Linked DNA regions of Homo sapiens: regions 1, 2 and 4 are each linked to region 3. The links are contacts of gene promoters, found by promoter capture Hi-C in blood cells and fetal thymus (Javierre and others, 2016). All regions are on one chromosome and are shown on one strand. The core of a region is centred on a gene start or on the middle of the fragment in contact, and the rest is flanking DNA. Distances in the headings are between cores, read along the strand shown.

Region 1 (4,512 bases), core at 389-2,888, 490 kb after region 3:
CGCGGGAACCAGCGTGGGGGCGGGATCCCCAGTGCCCCCGGTGCGTAGGCGCACTGCCGCGCTGCCACGCCCTCTCCCGGCCCCTGGCCAGGGCAACGGTGCCAGGGGACTGGCGAAGGCGCGCGGTGGGCGCTGCACTGCCCCCCTCAGGGCGGGCGACGCGCTCCTTCGCGGGCCCAGCGCGTTCACTTCCTGGGCCCGGCTGGCACTGCCCTGCGCCGCCGCCCGTCAGTCCCGGTACCCCGCCAGGAAATGTCTTCTTCCTGGGAAGACGGCCGCTGTCTGCGGCAGTGGGTGGCAGAGTCTGAAACCAAGTCGCACAAGCCCTGGGAGACAGAAAGCCTTGTGTTTGTCTTGGGGACTGTTCCGTCAGAATGAGCAGCTTAAAAAATGTCGCCTGTGAGGTCTCAGCTCGTAAGTGCCCCTCATGCCCACCCCCGGGAGGAGGCATGAGGGTGGGGGAAGCATCTTCATGGTAGATAGAAGCTTAAACGCTGCAGAAGCCGCCCGCTCGCGGCGGCCAGGACGAGGCCCCTTCGAGGCCAGCTGTTTGCTGTGTAACTGAGAGCAGAGTCCTTTAAGGACACAGGCCATTGGGTAAACACCCTCCTTGTCCCTCAGGCAGCTGGGTGTGGACGGCGGCTGCCTTTGGCCGGGGAGGCAAGGGCACCCAGCTGTTACCCAGCCAATGAGGACACATAGCCTCTGAGAAAAGCACAAAGGTGGCCCCTCTAGGCTATCTCTAGGGGAAAAAATTACACACACACACACACACACACACACACACACACACACACACACTCTCTCTTAAAAGTCTTGTGCCTGGATGCTCAGCACTGGCCCTGGAGCCTGCACCCACCTGCCTCCTAGTTGGCAGTAGTTCCCTCACACTGGCATGGTCTCCACTGAGATACTGGCTCCTTCATGAGCTCATTCCCATCCTCTACCTTCTTCCTCCTGTTTCCTTAGTTTCTCTCATTCTTAACTTCTGCTTTCTTCATCTTTCTCCCCATTTGTTCCACCTCTTCCTCTTCTGTTTCTTTCTTCCTTTTCCATTCATTTAAAAATGCACTCACCATGCATTAAGCACTGTAGTAGTCAGCCTGGCTGCCATAATAAAAATACCAGAGACTGTGTGACTTCAACAATAGAAATTAATTTTCTCACTTTTTGGGGCTGGAAGTCCAAAATCAGTGTGCCAGCATGGTGAAGTTCTGGTGAGGGTTCTCTTCCTGGCTTGTAAGATGGCTGCCTTCTTGCTATGTCTTCACGTGGCGGAGGAAGAGAGAGAAAGATCTCTTCTTCTTATAAGGCTGCAGTCCTGTCTGCTTAGGGCTCCACCCTTATGACCTCATTTGACCTTAATTACCTGCTGAAGAGCCTATCTCCAGGTATAGTGATATTGGGGGTTAGGGCTTCAGCATATGAGTTTTTTGGAAGTTGTCAGAAGTCAGTCCATAGCAAGCACCTACAGGGATTGTTAGATCCCTAGGAGCTATAGCAATGGGGAAAGCAGCAGTGCAAACAGATGTGACCAATGTTGTTAACACAGTGTGAACAGAACATAGCAGGAGCACGAAGGGGCAGGGGTGAATAGGTGCCTCGAGAAATCAAAAAGGGCTTGACAGAGAAGGTGACATCTAAGGTATGAGAAGTAATTTGCCAGGCAGAAAACAGAAAAACTATATTTCAGGCAAAGGGAATAGCATGTGCAAAGACATAGAGTTGTGAAACGGCACGGCCTGCTTCATAAGCAATGAAAGGTTCTGTAGCACTGGAAGTGAGGGTGTATAGTGGAGGGGGAGGGGGATGTTGGAGATGCAAGTTGGGGTTGCCACATGAAGGGCCAAAGCAGGACATGATGATGGTCTAAGAAGGCAAGGATAGTGAGGCTGGAAAGTAAGGACAGGGTGCAGGGGACATTGGCAAGTTCAAATTGACAGCATTTGATAACTGATTGAATATTGGGGTGATGAGGAGGGAGGAGTGGAGGGCAACTCCTGAGTTTCTAACTTAAGGGACTGGCAACATTTACTGGAGATACAGGAGGAGGAGTGGGTCTGGGGTGGGGGTGAGAGTGGATATGATGAGTGTTAAGCATCTTTAGAAAGTTCTGAGGTTGGGTACTAGCAGTGAAGTGGGGATGGAACAAACACAATGTAGATTCACTAGCTCACGTGAGGAAACTATTTAATGTTTGAAAAGGAACTATCCCAAATAGTTAAAAGAACAGTGCTCAGAATTCACACAGGGCTGGGAATAGTGCCTGCTCTCAACCAGCTAAAATTAGAGTATTGGGTAGTGCTGCAGTCTGAGTCTTTATATACCCCTCGCCCCCCAAATTCATATGTTGAAATCCTAACCCCCAAGGTGACAGTGTTAGGAAGTGGGGCCTTTGGGAGGTTACTAGGTCACTACGATGGAGCCCCAATTATGAGATTAATGCCCTTAGAAGGAGACATAGGAGAGAGCTTCATTCCTTTCTCTCTCTCTCTGTCATTCTCTCTCTCTCTGTCATCTGAAGGTACAACAAGAAGATAGCAATCTGCAAACCAGAAAGTGGGCCCTCACAAGAACTAGATGATGATGGTGTCCTGGCTTCAAACTCCCAGCTTCCAGAACTGTGAGAAATAAATTTCTGTTGTTTATAAGTTACCCAGTTTTGGTATTTTGTTATAGCAACCTGATTGAACTAAGACAAGTAGAGTACACAGAAGGTTCTTGCTTCAGTATGGTGAAATGATTAGCCCCAAACTTAATACTCTTCTGGTCTCATTTAACAAAGCTTAACAGAAAGCCCCAAAAGGATCAAACAATTTCCAACAAACTTAACTGAGTCCCGGAACAAAACTCAAGAATAATTACAGCAAGGTTTCCCAACCTCAGAATGATTGACATATTTGGGCTTCATAATTCTTTATTGTGGGGGCTGTCTTGTGTATTGCAGGACGTTTACCATCATACCTGGCCTGTACCCATTGGGTACCAATAGCACCCTCCAGTTGTAACAACAAAGAATGTCTTCAGACAAACAAAACTGCCTTTAGATGGGAACCACTGATTATAGAAACTTAGACATATAAACAACCAACAAGGTAGAATACACAATGTCTGGCATCCTGTAAAAAATTCCCTAGCATGGAAAGAGCAGGAAACTGTGACTAATAAGAAGGAGATAAATCAATTAATTGAAATCAAACCAGAACTGACACAGATGTTAGAATTAGCAGACAATGATAAAAAAGTTAATTACAACTAACTGTATTCTGTGTGTTCAAAAAGTTAGGTGGAGACATGGAAGTTTTTTTTTTTTTTTTTGAGACAGAGTCTCGCTCAGTCGCCTAGTCTGGAGTGCAGTGGCGCCATCTCGGCTCACTGCAAGCTCTGCCTCCCAGGTTCCCGCCATTCTCCTGCTTCAGCCTCCCAAATAGCTGGGACTACAGGTGCCCGCCACTATGCCTGGCTAATTTTTTTGTATTTTCGGTACGGATGGTCTCGATCTCCTGACCTCGTGATTCACCCATCTCGGCCTCCCAAAGTGCTGGGATTACAGGCGTGAGCCACCGTGCCTGGCTGGAAGATATTTTTGAAAATAGCCAAATCAAACTTATGGTAATGACAACCACAATATGTGAGGTAAAAAACACATTGGATAGAATTAATAAAAGATTAGACATTGCAGAAGAAAACATTAGTGAACTTGAATACACAGAGATAGAAATGATTTGAAATGAAACACACATAGAAAAGAGAATTACAAAATGAATTGAGCATCAGTAAACTGTAGGAAAAATTCAGATGGCCTCTTATATGTGTAATTGGAATCCCTGATGGAGAAAAAGAAAGAAAAGGGACCAGAAAAAAGTTTGAAGAAATAATGGTCAAAATTTTTTCAAATTTGATGAGAATTATAAACGCACAGATTCAGGGGACTCAACAAATGCCAAGTGCAAGAAACATGAAGAAAATTATGTCGAGACATATTGTAATCATATTGCTCAAAACCAGTGATAAGGAGAATATCTTAAAAGCAACCAGAGAAAAAAGACACATTATATACAGAGAGACAAATACAAGATTTCTCATTGTGAACAATATAAGTGAGAAGATGATGAAGCAAAATCTTTACAACACTGAAAGAAAAAAGAAAACTGTTAACCAGGGATTGTGTATCAGGCAAAAATATCTTTCAAAAATGAAGGCCAAATAAAAACATTTCAGTTATATGAAAGCTCAAATAATTTATCACTAGGAGACCCATGCTACAAGAAATGGAAGAAGAATAATAAATGAAAATATGAATCTACACAAAGGAAAGAAGAACACTGGAAATAATTAACTACACAGGTAAATAGGTCAGATTTTTTAAAAAGTATTTGAATATCTTTAATAGATAGTGGATTGTTTAGGCAAAAATAATAACAATGTAGTGTGAGGTTTGTAACATATGTAAATGTAAAATATATGACTACAATAGCACAGAGGTTGTGGGGAGAAATGGGTATATGCTAT
Region 2 (5,209 bases), core at 604-3,103, 470 kb after region 3:
ATACAGAAACGGGATGGCGGGAAGCTGGCTTGGCAGACGTCCTGATTGCAGCAGGTGGGTGTGTAGGTGTGAGTGACCTCCAGCTCTGTTGCAGCTGAGAGTATGATGAAGTTGGTGATAAAGGAAGGTAGCCTTAAGCAGCATGAATAGAAGTGGTATGTCCCCAGTAGGTGGGGACAGCACTGTCAGCTTCTACATTTTGTTGTTCATACCACCCCTGGAGCACCGGGCCAAGGTAGGAGTACCACTTTACAGAAAGGACGCTTCAAACTAGGGAGTGTTTGGGGAGGTGATCAGAATGATGAGGATTCAGAAATAAAATAATGATAATAGCTACCATTTATTAAGTGCTTCCTTTGTGCCAGCGACTGGGCTAAGGGAGGTGAATAAGACAAACACTGTCCCTGCCCTTGGGAAGCTTACATGCCTGGTAGCAAAGGCAGGCAATAAGCCCTGAAGCAGATCAACACATGGATTTATTTAAAAACCTACAAGTGCTACAGAGGAGGACAGGGTGCTATTACCTAGAGAACCTGACCCAGATGGGTTCCTCAAGCCTTCCTTGAGGAAGCAGCATTTTCATCTTTGAGCTAGTTTATGAAAGTAGATTAGGTATTACTTAGGCGACCATGACATCTTTTAAACAAAGAGAACAGCAGGTTCAAAGGCCCTGAGGCACATTTAAGGTACAGGGAGACGAGTTGTATTAAGGGATGTGACTTAGTTTGACTAAGGTCCTGGGAACATTGCTTTGGCTGTGTTGTGGGGGATGGACTGGGGAGATGCAAGGGTGGGTGCAGGGAGACCAGTCAGGAGGGAGCAGCAGCCATCTGTACTAGTTTCCTATTGCCACTGCAACACATTGCCTCACATTTAGTGGCTTAAAACAACGCAAATGGGCCAGGCATGGTGGCTCATGCCTGTAATCCCAGAGCTTTGGGACGCTGAGGCAGGAGGATCACTCGAACCCAGGAGTTCATGACCAGTCTGGGCAACATAGCAAGGACCTCATCTCCACAAAAGAATTTTTTTTTTGAGACAGAGTCGTGCTCTGTCACCCAGGCTGGAGTGCAGTCGCCTGATCTCAGATTACTGCAACCTCTGACTCCTGGGTTCAAGTGATTCTCCTGCCTCAGCCTCCTCAGCAGTGGGGACTACAGGCATGCACCACCAGGCCCGGCTAATTTTTGTATTTTTCAGTAGAGACAGGGTTTTGCTATGTTGGCCAGGCTGGTCTTGAACTCCTGGGCTCAAGTGATCCGCCCGCTTTGGCCTCCCAAAGTGCTGGGATTACAGCTGTGAGCCACTGTGCCCCACCTCCACAGAACAATTTAAAAACAATTAGCCAGGCGTGGTGGTGTGTGCCTGTAGTCCTAGCTACTTGGAAGGCTGAGGTGGAAGGATGACTTGAGGCCAGGAGTTTGCGACAAGTCTGGGCAACATAGCAAGACCCTGTCTCTACAAAAACAAGAACAAAACTAAACAATCCCCTAAAAGACGCCACAAACAAACCAAACCACAAATGTACTCTTTTACAGTTCTGTAGGCCAGAAGTTCAACAGGAGTCCCACTGGGCTAAAATCAAGGGGTCAGCAAGTCTGCGTTCCTCCTAGAGGCTCAAGGGGAGGATCTGTTTCCCTGCCTTGTTCAGCTTCGAGAGGCTGCCTGCATGCTTTGCCTCACGATGCCTTTCCATCTTCAAAGCCAGCAATGGCTGGTGGAGACTTTCTCACATTGCAGCATTCTGAGTCTGACTTTCCTGCCTCTGTCTTTCACTTATAGGGACCCTCGTGATCATATTGGGCCTCTCTGGATAATCCAAGATCATTATTCCCCAATCTCTCTATTTTATTTTATTTTGAGATGGAGATTCGCTCTGTTGCCCAGGCTGGAGTGCAATGGTGTGATCTCGGCTCACTTCAGCCTCTGCCTCCTGGGTTCGAGCAATTCTCTTGCCTCAGCCTCCCGGGTAGCTGGGATTACAGGTGCATACCACCACACCTGACTAATTTTTTGTATTTTTAGTAGAGACAAGGTTTTGCCATGTTGTCCAAGCTGGTCTGGAACTCCTGGCCTCAAGTGATCCACCTGCCTTGGCCTCCCGAAGTGCTGGGATTATAGGCATGAGCCACCATGCCCCGCTGATCTCCGTATTTTAAAGTCAGCTGATTAGCAGCCTTAATTTCCTCTTGCCACTGTAACACAATATATTCACAGGTTGTGGGGATTAGGATGTGCAGATATTGGGGAGTCCATTATCCTGCCTACCACACATCCTGATTTACACACATTACCTCATTTAATGCCCACGCCCTCTCCCCAGGAGGCTGGTACTACTAATTCCCTTTCTACAGATAGGACACTGAAGATTGCACAAGTGACCTGCCTAAGGTCACACGGTGGGAAGTGGCAAAGTCCACAGTCAGACTCCAGGCTGCTTGACTCCTGATCCTGTGATCCTAACCATCACCAGATCCTGCAATTCCATTTCTTGGTAGGACAATGGGAAAGGCCAGGGGATGATGTTTGCCCTAGGGAGCTGAGCTGCTAGCTGACTTCTAGTGTACGATGGGCTGGCTGACTGTTGGCAACACACAGGGTTAAGTTCTGTGTGACTCCAGAAGGCAAAACCAGGTCAAAACTTAAATTCCCAGTTTTAGAGACTTAGAATGTTAGAGCGAGAAGGGATCTCAGAGGTCATCTTTTCTTATAAGGAAATTAAGGCCCAGAGACAGGAAGTAATCTACCCAAGGCCACACAGCTAACTAGTAGCCTAATAAATAACTTTATTTTTTCTTTTCTTTCTTTCTTTCTTTTCTTTTTTTTTTTTTTTTTTTTTGAGACAGGGTCTCACTCTGTTGCCCAGGCTGGAGTGCAGTGGTGTGATCTTGGCTCACTGCAACCTCCGCCTCCTGGGTTCAATCAATTCTGGTGCCTCAGCACCCCCAGTAGCTGGAATTACAGGCATGCACCAACACGCCCTGCTAATTTTTGTATTTTTAGTAGAGAAGGGGTTTTGCCATGTTGGGCAGGCTGGTTTCAAACTCTTGACCTCAAATGATCCGTCCGCCTAGGCCTCCCAAAGTGCTGGGATTACAGGCCTAATCAAGAACTTTCTATTACAATTCTCCTGACAATGATATGGGCTGCAATATTAAGTGATGGGCTCCTCATCGCTGGAGGTGGCTGAGCATCTAACGGGGACCTCCCACTGGGCACAGGCATCACTGGTCATTGTGAAGTGTGTTGCATGTAATTTTGAAATAAACAACAAAGCACACAAGCTTGTAAATGATTTCTTCATCTTAACAAATGAGAGCAGTTCTGGCCTGAGACTTTTTAAAGTCAGGTTTATGAAGGCATAATTTCACCCTTTGATGTGTACAAGTTCAATGAGATTTAACAAAGGTAAACAAAGGTAAACAGTCATGTAACCACTACCACATTCAAGATATGAAACACTTCCATCACCTCCAAATATTCAAAAAGCTTTTTGTGCCCCCCTTTTAGTAAACTTTTTATTTTCAAAGAACTACTCACGAGAAGTTGCAAAAATAATACAGAGAGGTCCCATGTCCTCTTCAGGCAGCTTTCCCCGCTGGTAACATCTTACATAACTATAGTACAATGTCAAGGCCAGGGATATAACATCAGTACAATGCCACTAAGTGAACTCCAGACCTGATTCAGATTTCTCAAGCTTTTTCATGCGCCCATTTGTGTGTGCATGTTTGTGTGCACAGTTTTATGCAGTTTCATTGCGTGTATAGTTTTGCATAACTACCACCATCAATAAACTCCCTCGTGTTACTCCTACCCACCCATGCCCACCTGTTCCCTCCAAGCCATCCCTAACCCTTGGCAGCCACTAATCTGTTTCTGTGCCCCTTTTCATATGCTTTACTGTGAAAGTGCATTTTTAATTAGAAAATAAATTGATGAATCAACTCACGTTGGCAAAAATCCAAAGTATTTAGTTATTTGGAAAGAACTCCTTAAGACACGTTTCTCATTTTAGTACCTTTACTGGGGGTGAACACTGTTAGGGTTTGGGGTATCCTACACTTCTGTCCTTGCAGTTGCATACCGTGCATACATTACATGTATATGTACAGTACCTATAGAAATATATAGTTGTGTACATTTTATCACATATATTGTATCATACATATTGTCCCACAGCTTGTTTTTTGTTTTTGTTTTTGTTTTTTGAGACAGAGTCTCACTCTGTCGCTCAGGCTGGAGTGCAGTGGCGTGATCTCGGCTCACTGCAACCTCTGCCTCTTGGGTTCAAGAGATTCTCCTGCCTCAGCCTCCCCGAGTAGCTGGGACTACACGCACGAGCCACCACACTGGCTAATTTTTGTATTTTTAGTAGAGACAGGGTTTTGCCATGTTGGTCAGGCTGCTCTCGAACTCCTGACCTCAGGTGATCTGCCTGCCTCGGCCTCCCAAAGTGCTGGGATTATAGACGTGAGCCACCAGGCCCAGCCCCACAGCTTTTTTTTTTTTTTTTTTGCCACTTAACAATATGCTTTTCACCACAAAAAACTGATAAATATGGGAGGTGATAGATATGCTAATTAACTTTATTTAATCTTTGTACAATGTATACATATAGCGGGCCCAAGACTGCTTGCGGGTACCAAAATCTGAGGATGCTCAAGTCCCTGATATAAAATGGCATAGTATTCGCATATAACCTATGCACATCCTGCCTTATATTTCAAATCATCTCTAGATTGTGTATAACACCTAATACAATGTAAGTGGCATGTAAATAGTTGTTATATTGTTCAGGGAATCCTGACAAGAAAAAAAGCCTGTACGTGTTCAGTACAGACACAACATCCATTATTTTTTCCCAAATATTTTTCATCCAAGCTTGGTTGAATCCTTGGATGTAGAACCCACGAATAAGTAGGGCCAGCTGTACATCAAAACATCACATTGTACTCCATAGACAAATACAATTATTATTTGCCAATTAAAATAAAATAAAAATATGTCTTGGATAACTTTATCCACACATTTATGTCTCATACATAAAAAGATATCTGCACAGCATTCTGTAATATGGCTGTCCCATAATTGATTGAATCAGCCCCCTGGTGGGAGACGTTTAGGTTGTTCTGAGTTTTCTGTATTACAAATAGTGCTGCGGTGGCCAGCCTTTGTGCACATGTGCAAGTTCTTCTCAGAAGTCGAG
Region 3 (4,583 bases), core at 574-3,073:
TCAAGCGAGTCTCCTGCCTCAGTCTCCCTAGTAGCTGGGATTACAGGCGCATGCCATGGCGCCCGGCTAATTTTTGGATTTTTTGTAGAGACGGGGTTTCACCATGTTGGCCAGACTGGTCTTAAACTCCTGACCTAAAGTGATTCACCCGCCTAGGCCTCCCAAAGTGCTGGGATTACAGGCATGAGCCACGGAGCCTGACCACATCAATACTTCTTAGTATGTACTCTCTATCATTGTCCCCCGAAAATGTGCTGGGTTTTGGTTTTTTAAAACAGTTCCAAGCCTTTTCATTTAACAAACAGCATGGTGCTTCCTCTAAGACACTTTACAAATATTAGCTCATTTAGTCTTCCGAACACCCTCCTGAGATTTGTAGATGAGGAAAATGAGGCACAATTAAGTGACTTGCCCAGGTGGCAGAGCCAGGATTCAATGTGGGTTGGTCTGGATCCAAGGTCAACATGTTTAACAATGAAAAATGTTATCTTTGGTCCGAAAGTATTCACCATCTGAAATATCAATCCTTTTCCTCTACTGTTTGAATTTTACTACTCATCCTTCAAGACACAACTCAAATAACTTCTTACACGAAGTTCTACCATAGTGATTCCATCCCATAGTCTTCTCTCTTGCTCTGTCCGGCACTACACCAGATATTATTTCAATGACCGGTATATGTCATCTCCCCAACTAGACAGTGGCCACTTCCTATATAGATGCTATGTCCAAATAAACCCATTGTAAACTGAAAATATCGTTAAGTCGAAACTGCATTTAATACCCTGATAAACCCATCATAAAGTCAAAAAACCGTAAGTTGAACCATGCTTAAGTCCAGATGCTCCTCGACTGACATGGGGTTAGGTCTCATTAAACCCATCATAAAGTCGAAAAATTGTAAGTCGAACCATTGTGAGGGGTAAGTCGGGGACCATCCGTACTTTTCATACCCAACAGAGCCCCTTTTATAGTACAATCCAAGAGGTAAGTGCTCAATAAATACTTGTTAAATGAATATGTAAGCTGAATCTTTGAAACAGGCACATTGTATGTTCTGCATGCAGCCAAAACATTATTTCCAATTTAGCTTATATCTGGCAGAGTCAAAACACTTATTTACACTCAGCCCCTCACCCTACTCCCATAACTGAAAGTTCTGCTTAGCAGACTTCTCTTCCCAGAAAGTCCGAGAAGCACGAACGCTTTTTGCTAACATCCTGCTCCCAAGCACAGAAACCACAGCAGGAGACTGTGTGTATCTGTAGCACCTGGTATACAGCATCTAGGACACACAACTGAACTAATAAATAAAGGTGACAGGCGGGAAGAAGAGCGCAGAATTACTTGTCCAGGAAACGGGTTGGGTGGGAAAGAGCCGGCAACTGGTAAAAGATGGAAGTACACGCCGGATCTGGGAAGCCAGGTTCCGCGCCTCGGACTCATGGAAAAACTGGATCTGGATCACTGCAAAAGAATCAGGAAGGCTTCGGTATCAAGTAACTGGTGTCCTAAAACCAAAAAACAAAGTGCGATGCCGGGGCTACGCTGTTGTGAGATGCTGTTATCAGTTCTCGTCACCAACACAGCGGCAGCACCAGGCACAACCGCCAATCAAAGCGGCCCCACGAGTCCCTCCTTGAACAGGTTCCTTAACTCGTTCAGTCCAACACTGTGCCACAAACTCGCGAAAACCGGCTACCTAGAGCCAGCGTCTTTGCGAGCTTGCGGCCAGCTAGTGCATGCGCAAATCCTCTCGCCGTGCGGACCAATCGCAATGCGGCAGCGAGTGCTACGCCTGCGCAGTAGGCCTCCGGTCGCCGTTCCCCTTCCCCGGCTCTAGCAGGCCGGCTTCTCTGTCCAATGCCCACCCGGAGCTGGGAGGAGGAGTCTGCGTAATGTGCGTGTGAAGAGACTGGGGGAGCTGGCCGGGGCTCACGGTGTTTGACCCGTCGGTCGTGCGTGAGAGGAAAGGGAAGGAGGAGGTCCCGAATAGCGGTCGCCGAAATGTTCCGGTGTGGAGGCCTGGCGGCGGGTGCTTTGAAGCAGAAGCTGGTGCCCTTGGTGCGGACCGTGTGCGTCCGAAGCCCGAGGCAGAGGAACCGGCTCCCAGGTGACTGACCCATTCCAGGCAACCTCCAAGTCCGAGGGCCTGGCGCCTTAGGCTCCCTGTGCCTTGCAGCCCTCTACCCCCGCGTCCCCGCGAGAAACTTAACACATAGTCACGTGAATTCCAAATTGGCAGACTCCGAACCCTGAGTCTTGCAAGCGGAGGAATTGGCTCAGCCATGCCGACCTGACCTTCAAGAGATTTGAACCCAGTAGTCGGCTTGAGGCCTTTTCCCGGGAGCGTTTGCTGTTCAGGGATCCCAGAACAACTGGCTGTCGGCGCCTCCCCGGCATCCCCACCCCCCACCCCCCTTTTTAGAGCAATGAGGTCAAGTAGACTTTGTCATTTACCGATTGAGACTTTAAACAGGACGTTTAAGCCCTACGCCTAAGTTTCTTGTGTAAATGAGGGTGTTATCTGCTCAGCCTTCCAAACCACAGATGAGATCCATGGATTTGAATGCCCAGTGAAACAGAAACGGTGCAGGGCAAGTAAGGAGTCGGTTGGTTGTGTACCAGACACCCAGAGAATTGGCCCAGACTTAATTGGAGATGCCTGAGCCGTGTACTTCTTGGTGGTCTTTAAGGCTTCAAAGAAACAGTTTGCAGAACGCATTGTATTTTGTTCTCCATTAAGTTGTTTCATCAAATTTTAGAGCTGGAAGGGATTTTGTGGTAAAGGTCAACCCACTCATTTTATAGATAATAAACTGAGGCACAGAGAGGTGAAATTACTTGCCAAAGGTCACATAGTTAATTAATAGGTAGAGCTAAGGATAGTTTGCTAGCCTCCAGGTCCTTAATCCCTTCGCTGCAACTCCATACTGCTTCCTAAAGTTGACCTCAAAAAGTTAAGAATGAATTCGGGTCTCTTCCCAGTAATTAGCCCATTGTACATCAGATATCCGTGAATTTATCTGAGCATGGCTTGAGCCTGCTTCTTTTCGTACTGCGTTACTTCATGGGGGCAATGAATGATCCACCTGTAGGAGTTGCTTTGAAAAAAAAATCAGTAATCCTTCAATGTCCACCCCTAGGGCATTTGCAATGTCAGAAGTTATCCTTGAGGCTTTTACAATACAGAAACACCTGGGTGCTTTAAAAATAAAAAGTGGAAAATATTTTCCTTGGGTTGTTAGGGTCTTTGCAAATGTGCATTTGAACAGTTTTTCCAGTTGCTATGCACAATGAAAATGTTTCCTGATAGGTGTATTTGAGTTATGTCCTGGGACATACTGCTCTTGGAACTTAAAACCTCTGCTTAGCTTTTAAACTAATGCCTTATCAATGGATGTCATCTTTGAGGGTTTTGTGTATTGAAATGATGGTGCTCTGTGCTTGTTGCACAGAAATTGAGATAACCTGAATTTTTTTTTTTTTTTTTTTTGAGACGGAGTCTCGCTTTGTCGCCCAGGCTGGAGTGCAGTGGCGCGATCTCGGCTCACTGCAATCTCCGCCTCCCGGATTCACGCCATTCTTCTGCCTCAGCCTCCAGAGTAGCTGGGACTACAGGCACCCGCCACCACGCCCGGCTAATTTTTTTTTTTTTTTTTTTGTATTTTTAGTAGAGACAAGGTTTCACCATGTTAACCAGGATGGTCTCGATCTCCTGACCTCGTGATCCGCCCACCTCGGCCTCCCAAAGCGCTGGGATTACAGGCGTGAGCCACCGCGCCCGGCGATAACCTGAATTTTTTCATCCACACTGGCCTTTCAAACTTTGAGTAGTTGTTTTGCTTAAGTCTCACAACTTTTACCAGCATTCTAAAGTCTGACCAAAAGTTCTCATCAATTAAATATGCATTTGCAAAGTTAAGTTGATTTATTAGACATTGGAAAGTGGTTGGTGTTGTTAGAACTACTGAAAAATACAGACTCAAATGGTTTTTTCCACTGCATGTCTTTGTTTGAAGGCAGTCTACTGTAGAATATATTCGGACTTCCTGACATATCCATCCATCTCTTTGCATACACTTGTTCTTTGTCCTTTGGCCGTGCACCAAAGTATGACATCATCTGCCTTTAAAAATGGGTGAGGGTAGTGTTAAATTTTCAAAAAGAAGTTCTGATACTCTCATTTTAGGAATTAACTCTGTTTTGTGGCTTGATTCCTAACTGCTTTTAATCTGATTTCTTTTTCATGTAGTAGCATCTACCGTGTGTTTTTGCACAGGTGGGAAAGAGCAAGGTTCGTTTATACACCATTTCTCCCTCCACCTTACCTTTAAACTTTTTTTTTTTTTTTTTTTTGAGGCGGAGTCTCGCTCAGTTTCCCAGAGTGCAGTGGCACGATCTTGGCTCACTGCAACCTCTGCCTGCTGGGTTCAAGCAATTCTCCTGCGTCAGCCTCCCAAGTAGCTGGGACTACAGGCATGCACCACCACGCCGGGCTAATTTTTTGTATTTTTAGTAGAGACGGGGTTTCACCATGCTGGCCAGGCTGGTCTCAAACTCCTGACCTTGTGATCCACCTG
Region 4 (4,814 bases), core at 2,285-4,784, 370 kb after region 3:
AGTGTGTCCACTTAGCCGGCAGTCCTAGATGTAGTGGACGCTGTTTGTCCCCAGGCCAGTTGGGCACCAGGAAGGGCTACTCTGGGGATTCAGGGCATAGACTTCGTACTGGGGTCAAGGGAGGCCCCCACTCACAGATACTCTCCTTTCCTTCTGGGGCTCAATGTACACCAAAACCTTCAGAAAGCAAAGTTGGAGTGGTGGACCCCCAATGTCAAGTTTAGTGCTCTCTTTGCTTGTGAGGACCCACACAAGTGGCCAACTCTGGACTCAGATCCACAGCTGGCTTCCGAGAGGCAATTCTGTCCTTGGAAGCCAGGTTTGACCATCTGTAATCAGCCTTGTGAGAAGTCTCGTTTGAGGGGGCCAGGGATGGAACGGGAGGGCGCATATCGTATGAGGTATGGGCATTGTGTTAAGCTGGGGGAAGTTGCAGCTTGTCCTGAATTACATGGAGAGGAATAAAGTGGGTGAGTAGGAGGAGCCATTTCATCTGAAAGCCTGAGGCCCCTCTGGTCCCCTCGATAAACCCCACTGGTGTCCCAGGCCACAGGTAACAGGAGAATAGACATTTAATGTCACAGAATGTCAGAGCAGGCAAGGCCTTCAGTGATCACCCTTTCTAACCCCAACCCGTCCTAAGCCTAGAAAGAGGAAGCCACTTGGTTCAAGTCTCATAAGATTTAGTGGCCAAACCTCTAAGAAAGCTAGGGAGAAGGAAAGTGGGAATGGTACCTGTGGATTTCTTCAGGCCTTATTTAGGGGAACTGGATTTACCCATGGTCAGTTTGGGTTCTTTTAAATGGCCAGCTTCCCTAGGGTTTTTAGACTGACCTGAAACATTGACTTGGCCCCCTTTTCAGGAGCAGTGCGACAGGGGTAGGTGGTGTGGGGGTGAGGAGGATTTGGAGGCCTTGTTGGTGAGGGACATGGGCAGGGTTTCCCAGTGCCCCACTTGCTGTGGCCGTGGCCATGGCAGGGGAGCAGTTGGTGCCAGGAGGGGCTGCGCTGTCAGTCGCTGGTGGAGGGCGGGGCTCAGGCAGGTGGGATGTGCCCTTGGGCGACTCCCCAACCACTCCAGCTGAGCCTGGAACCTGTAGGGCCCTGGCCTGGCCTCTGTGGCCCTAAGTGTCCCTGGGGAAGCAGGGCCAGGCTCAGTGCCAGTCCTCAGGACCTGGGCCACCACGGGAGGCTGGGCCCACTCCTACAGCCTTTGCAGCTGGGTCCCAGCCTTGGCCTATTGCCACCGCCACCTCAAGGTGCCCCGGCCAGGGAGAGGCCTTGCAGCTGCTCCTCAGTGCCTGCCAGCTCTGCGTCATCGCGCCCGCTCTCCGAGCCCTCAAAGCAGCCTGAGTCGCGCGGGATGTCCACCTTGGGTTCCGACACTGTGTGTGCCACTGGCTCCTGGCTGCTCTCGGCGCCCTCTTCAGCCTCCTCACTGCCAGCTGCCAGGGACGAGAGAGGGAGACAGAATATGGGGGTGGAGGTAGGGACCTTGGGAAATACACCATAGGCAGTCTCTCCTTCTGGGCACCTGCCACCGCCCTGCCCCTCTCCTCACTGCTTCCAGCTTAGAAGCTGGTAGGAGTTGTTTCCAGGCCAGCTCTGCAGTCCAGGAGCTCACACTTCTTTAGCACTAAGCTGGAGCCAGGCAGTGGGCTTGAATCCTGGCTCTGTTATTACTCAGCTTTGAGGCCTCAAGTAAGGCTTTGCCTTCTTTGGCCTTAAGGGTCCCCTTTGATCCAAAGGAGGTTGGGCCCAATCATCCCTACAACTCCTTTCTCCCGTACACTTTCCCTGAAATTCTAATTCAAGTGGAAAGTACCTTTCCACTGCAGAGCAGTCCTAGGGCAGAGCGTGGACAGAAGGCAAGGCCAGGGCAAGCCTCCCCTCCCTGGAATGCCGGTGGGCACACACCCTCACCAGGCCGCTCCTAAAGCCACTCACTGTCATAGTCCAGCAGCAGCTCGGCGGCCGTGAGCAGCTTGGCCCGGTGCTGTGGATCCATGATGTTCAGCTCATTGAGGTGTGTTTCTCGCAGCTCTTTGAAGTCTTCCAGTGTCTGGTAGCCATTGAGCAGGAGGGTGGATGTGTGCTCCTGTAGGCAGAGGCAGGCCATCGGCACAGCTGCTTACCAGCCACCCCTGCCTAGGTCCTCCCCAACTACGCATAGCTGTCATTTCCTGGTCCCCATCCCTGGGGCAGTTGTGCCTCCCTGATACTAGATACTAGTGAGGACCAAGCTCAAACCTCCAGGCCGATGCGCTCCAGCAGCTCATGCAGGGTCTTAGGCTTGGGCCTCTTGCCCTTGCTCTGTCGGCGGCTGGGGCGGGCATGCCCCACGGCCTCCTCGGGCAGCACATCCACATAGATGAATTTGAAAGAGCCCACCTTGCCATTGAGTAGGCCCAGCCACGTGCCCACAGGTGGCTTTTCAATGATCTGGATCACATCTCCTTTCTGTTGGGGGAGAGGAGAGGAGAAGGGAGCAAGGGAGAGAGGATATGGGGGGCCTTGGCCTCCACTGACACTGTCATAGCCTGGTTCAGTCCAGCTTCCTTTTTGGGCACAGCCTGCCAGGCTCCAGAGAAGCCCGGATGCTGATCTTACCTGCAGTTTCAGCGAGTCGTGGTCATAGGGGCTGGGAGTGAAGTCGGTGTGGACTCGTGCCCGGCCACAGAAAGGCCCTGTGTACTGGGGGGCAGGTGGTTCCTCCCCGAAGCTGCCAGAACCTGGGCTGGGGCTGCAGAGCTCACTGCCTGCAGGAGATGGGGCAGGGAGGAGGCTCACCTTTGTCCTAGAACAGCTGAGACAGTGCCTAGCAGGTGCCTTCCAGGGGACCTGCCTAGAAATCCCAAGGGTATACACCGGGAAGGCAGCTGGGCTCTGGCAAGCTTTACACTGCAGAAGGGATTCTGAACCACCCCCTTGGCTACCGACCAGGAGCACGGCTTCACCTCTGGGCCCTTGGACATGAAAAGAGTTGGCAATGGGAGGAGAAATGGCTCACTGACCAAAGAATGGGCAAATTAGGAGGGCCTCTAGAGAACAACTGGGCCAACACTCCAATGAACAGATGCGGAAATCTGAGGTCACACAGACCAAGTGAACTGCTCAAGGCTTCTCATTTTATAACTGGCAGCACTGAGTCAGTCCATTAGACTCCATGTTCCCTGATACCCACTCCAACGCTCCCTCCACCCAGGAAGCTATGCCCTGCATTCATATTTGACTTTCCCTGCTTAACTCAATGTGTAGTTACAATGTCACATAGAAACTCAGTTGGGCTCCTTCTCCCTGGGAAGTACAGAGTAGTGGGCATTTTGAATGATTTTCAGTCGGGGGCAGGGAAGTGTCTGTGGAGGCAGAGAAAGCAGGAAACTTGGAGTGGACTTGAGGGGCAAGAAAGGCGGTGCTGAATGGGGCTGCAGAACCCAAAGCCCCTGCCTGGACGAGTTCCCTGCTGGCACCTCTTGTCCTGTCCCATGGACTTCTAGAAGATGCCAGGTGATGCCCTGAGCCCAGCAACTATGGTCTAGGGTCAAGAGGCTGACTCTTCACAGCTGGAGACCTCATACGCCCACCCCCGACTGGGGCATCAGAGGCCCAGGGATCTGTAGCCTCTAGCTCCCCTTGGAAAGGTGGGGACGGGCTGGTCCAAGAGGGTGACTGAGACTCTTCCTCTGCCCGTGGGCCTCTCCGGGGCCTGAGGATAGCAAGTGGAAGTTCCTCTACGGTACATCTGAGTTCAAGACTGGGTCATCTTGGGCAAGTCACTTAACCTCCCTAAGACCCTGTTTCCACATCAATAAAGCAAGGATAACAGTACTGGCCCCATGAGGTTGTTGAGAAGATTTAATGTGAAGAGGACTGAGAATGTTCCCAGCAGGCAAAGAGTAAGCATTCATTTCTCTTACCCCCCGCCCAGACAGTGTGCCACCAGCACGGCTGTAACCCAGTCCTTTCCTCCAGATTCGGCAGGTGTCCCCCGCATCCCCTACTCACCTGTTGATGCCTGGCGGCTGAGCACCGGAAGTTCATGCTCCTCTTGCTCAGAAAAGGCCAGCGCCATCTTCTCAGGGCCAGGGCTGTCCAGGCTGTAGTCTGGAGATGTCGGGGAGGCAGAGCCCTCCTCCAGAGTGTCTGCCTGCAGGGAGGGTAGGCGGGAAGCTTTAAGGAGCCTTGCTGGGGTGTGCATGAAGCTGAAGAAATGGGCCTGGGCTTAGTGAAGAGCTAGGGGCTGGCTCAAACCCCAACTCTACCACTTATAGGCTGAATGGCACTCTCTGAGCCCTAGTTTCTTCCCCTTTTGTAAAAATGAGAGTGACAGTCCTTGCCCTGGTTACCTCACAGAAACAGGTTCAACCAGGGCACCATGTGGATGTGCTTTTGTCAGCCTCAAGTGCCGATGTACATACAGAAAAGACCACGGTGGCACAACCTGGACTCAACCATTGCTACCGCACAACTGGGCAGACAATGTCGCTAGAGAGGAAACTACTTTTGCCTGTGTTTCTGTGTGCCAGGCCTGCCTGCCATTTCACTGAATCCTTACAGTGACACTTGAAGGTAAGTGGTATTGTTGGCCTGAGTTTACAAATGAGGAGTAAGGCCCAAGGGTTACTTACTCCTCATCTGTAAACTCAGGCCAAGGGAATTCAGGTTCAAGTCCCAAGGCAACCCACAACCAAGCCAGACTCCAGAGCTCCCCCTACCTCACCACACCTCAGTGAGGTGATAACTGTTTAACAGCTGGCCCTGATGAGTTGCCAATTCCTGTGTTGTAAACACTCCCCTCCACGGCCAATGTCAAG

Evidence for each region. Contacts are between HindIII fragments. The CHiCAGO score rates a contact against its expected background, and 5 or more counts as called.
Region 1: a contact is called between a fragment that was not itself captured here and the fragment with the promoter of AIFM1 in region 3, in 6 of 17 cell types (naive CD4 T cells, naive B cells, activated CD4 T cells and 3 more). The highest score is 7.0, in naive CD4 T cells.
Region 2: a fragment that was not itself captured here is called in contact with the fragment with the promoter of AIFM1 in region 3 in 2 of 17 cell types (naive B cells and total CD8 T cells); the score reaches 6.9 in naive B cells.
Region 4: a fragment that was not itself captured here is called in contact with the fragment with the promoter of AIFM1 in region 3 in 1 of 17 cell types (naive CD4 T cells); the score reaches 5.4 in naive CD4 T cells.

What each region holds. Positions count from the first base shown.
Region 1 is chrX:129,674,031-129,678,542 of GRCh38, reverse strand. LOC105373334 (a long non-coding RNA gene) reads left to right here and starts at 73. Exons shown (of 2, transcript XR_938580.4): 1 at 73-414; 2 at 2,525-2,655. RefSeq lists a silencer at 1-168 and an enhancer at 399-568. The HindIII fragment of the contact is 2,299 bases long and covers 489-2,787 here.
Region 2 is chrX:129,690,720-129,695,928 of GRCh38, reverse strand. No RefSeq gene overlaps it. Among named protein-coding and RNA genes, the nearest start is that of APLN, 38 kb to the right of the region's middle. The HindIII fragment of the contact is 2,866 bases long and covers 421-3,286 here.
Region 3 is chrX:130,163,081-130,167,663 of GRCh38, reverse strand. It overlaps AIFM1 (apoptosis inducing factor mitochondria associated 1), which reads left to right and starts at 1,823. Exons shown (of 16, transcript NM_004208.4): 1 at 1,823-2,113. The coding sequence starts at 2,008. It also overlaps a transcript of RAB33A not described here. RefSeq lists an enhancer at 1,835-2,174. The HindIII fragment of the contact is 8,785 bases long and covers 1-4,583 here.
Region 4 is chrX:129,790,273-129,795,086 of GRCh38, reverse strand. SASH3 (SAM and SH3 domain containing 3) reads right to left here. Exons shown (of 8, transcript NM_018990.4): 4 at 4,006-4,147; 5 at 2,611-2,759; 6 at 2,251-2,460; 7 at 1,948-2,098; 8 at 1-1,445. The coding sequence ends at 1,255. Among named protein-coding and RNA genes, the nearest start is that of SASH3, 13 kb to the right of the region's middle. The HindIII fragment of the contact is 1,276 bases long and covers 2,897-4,172 here.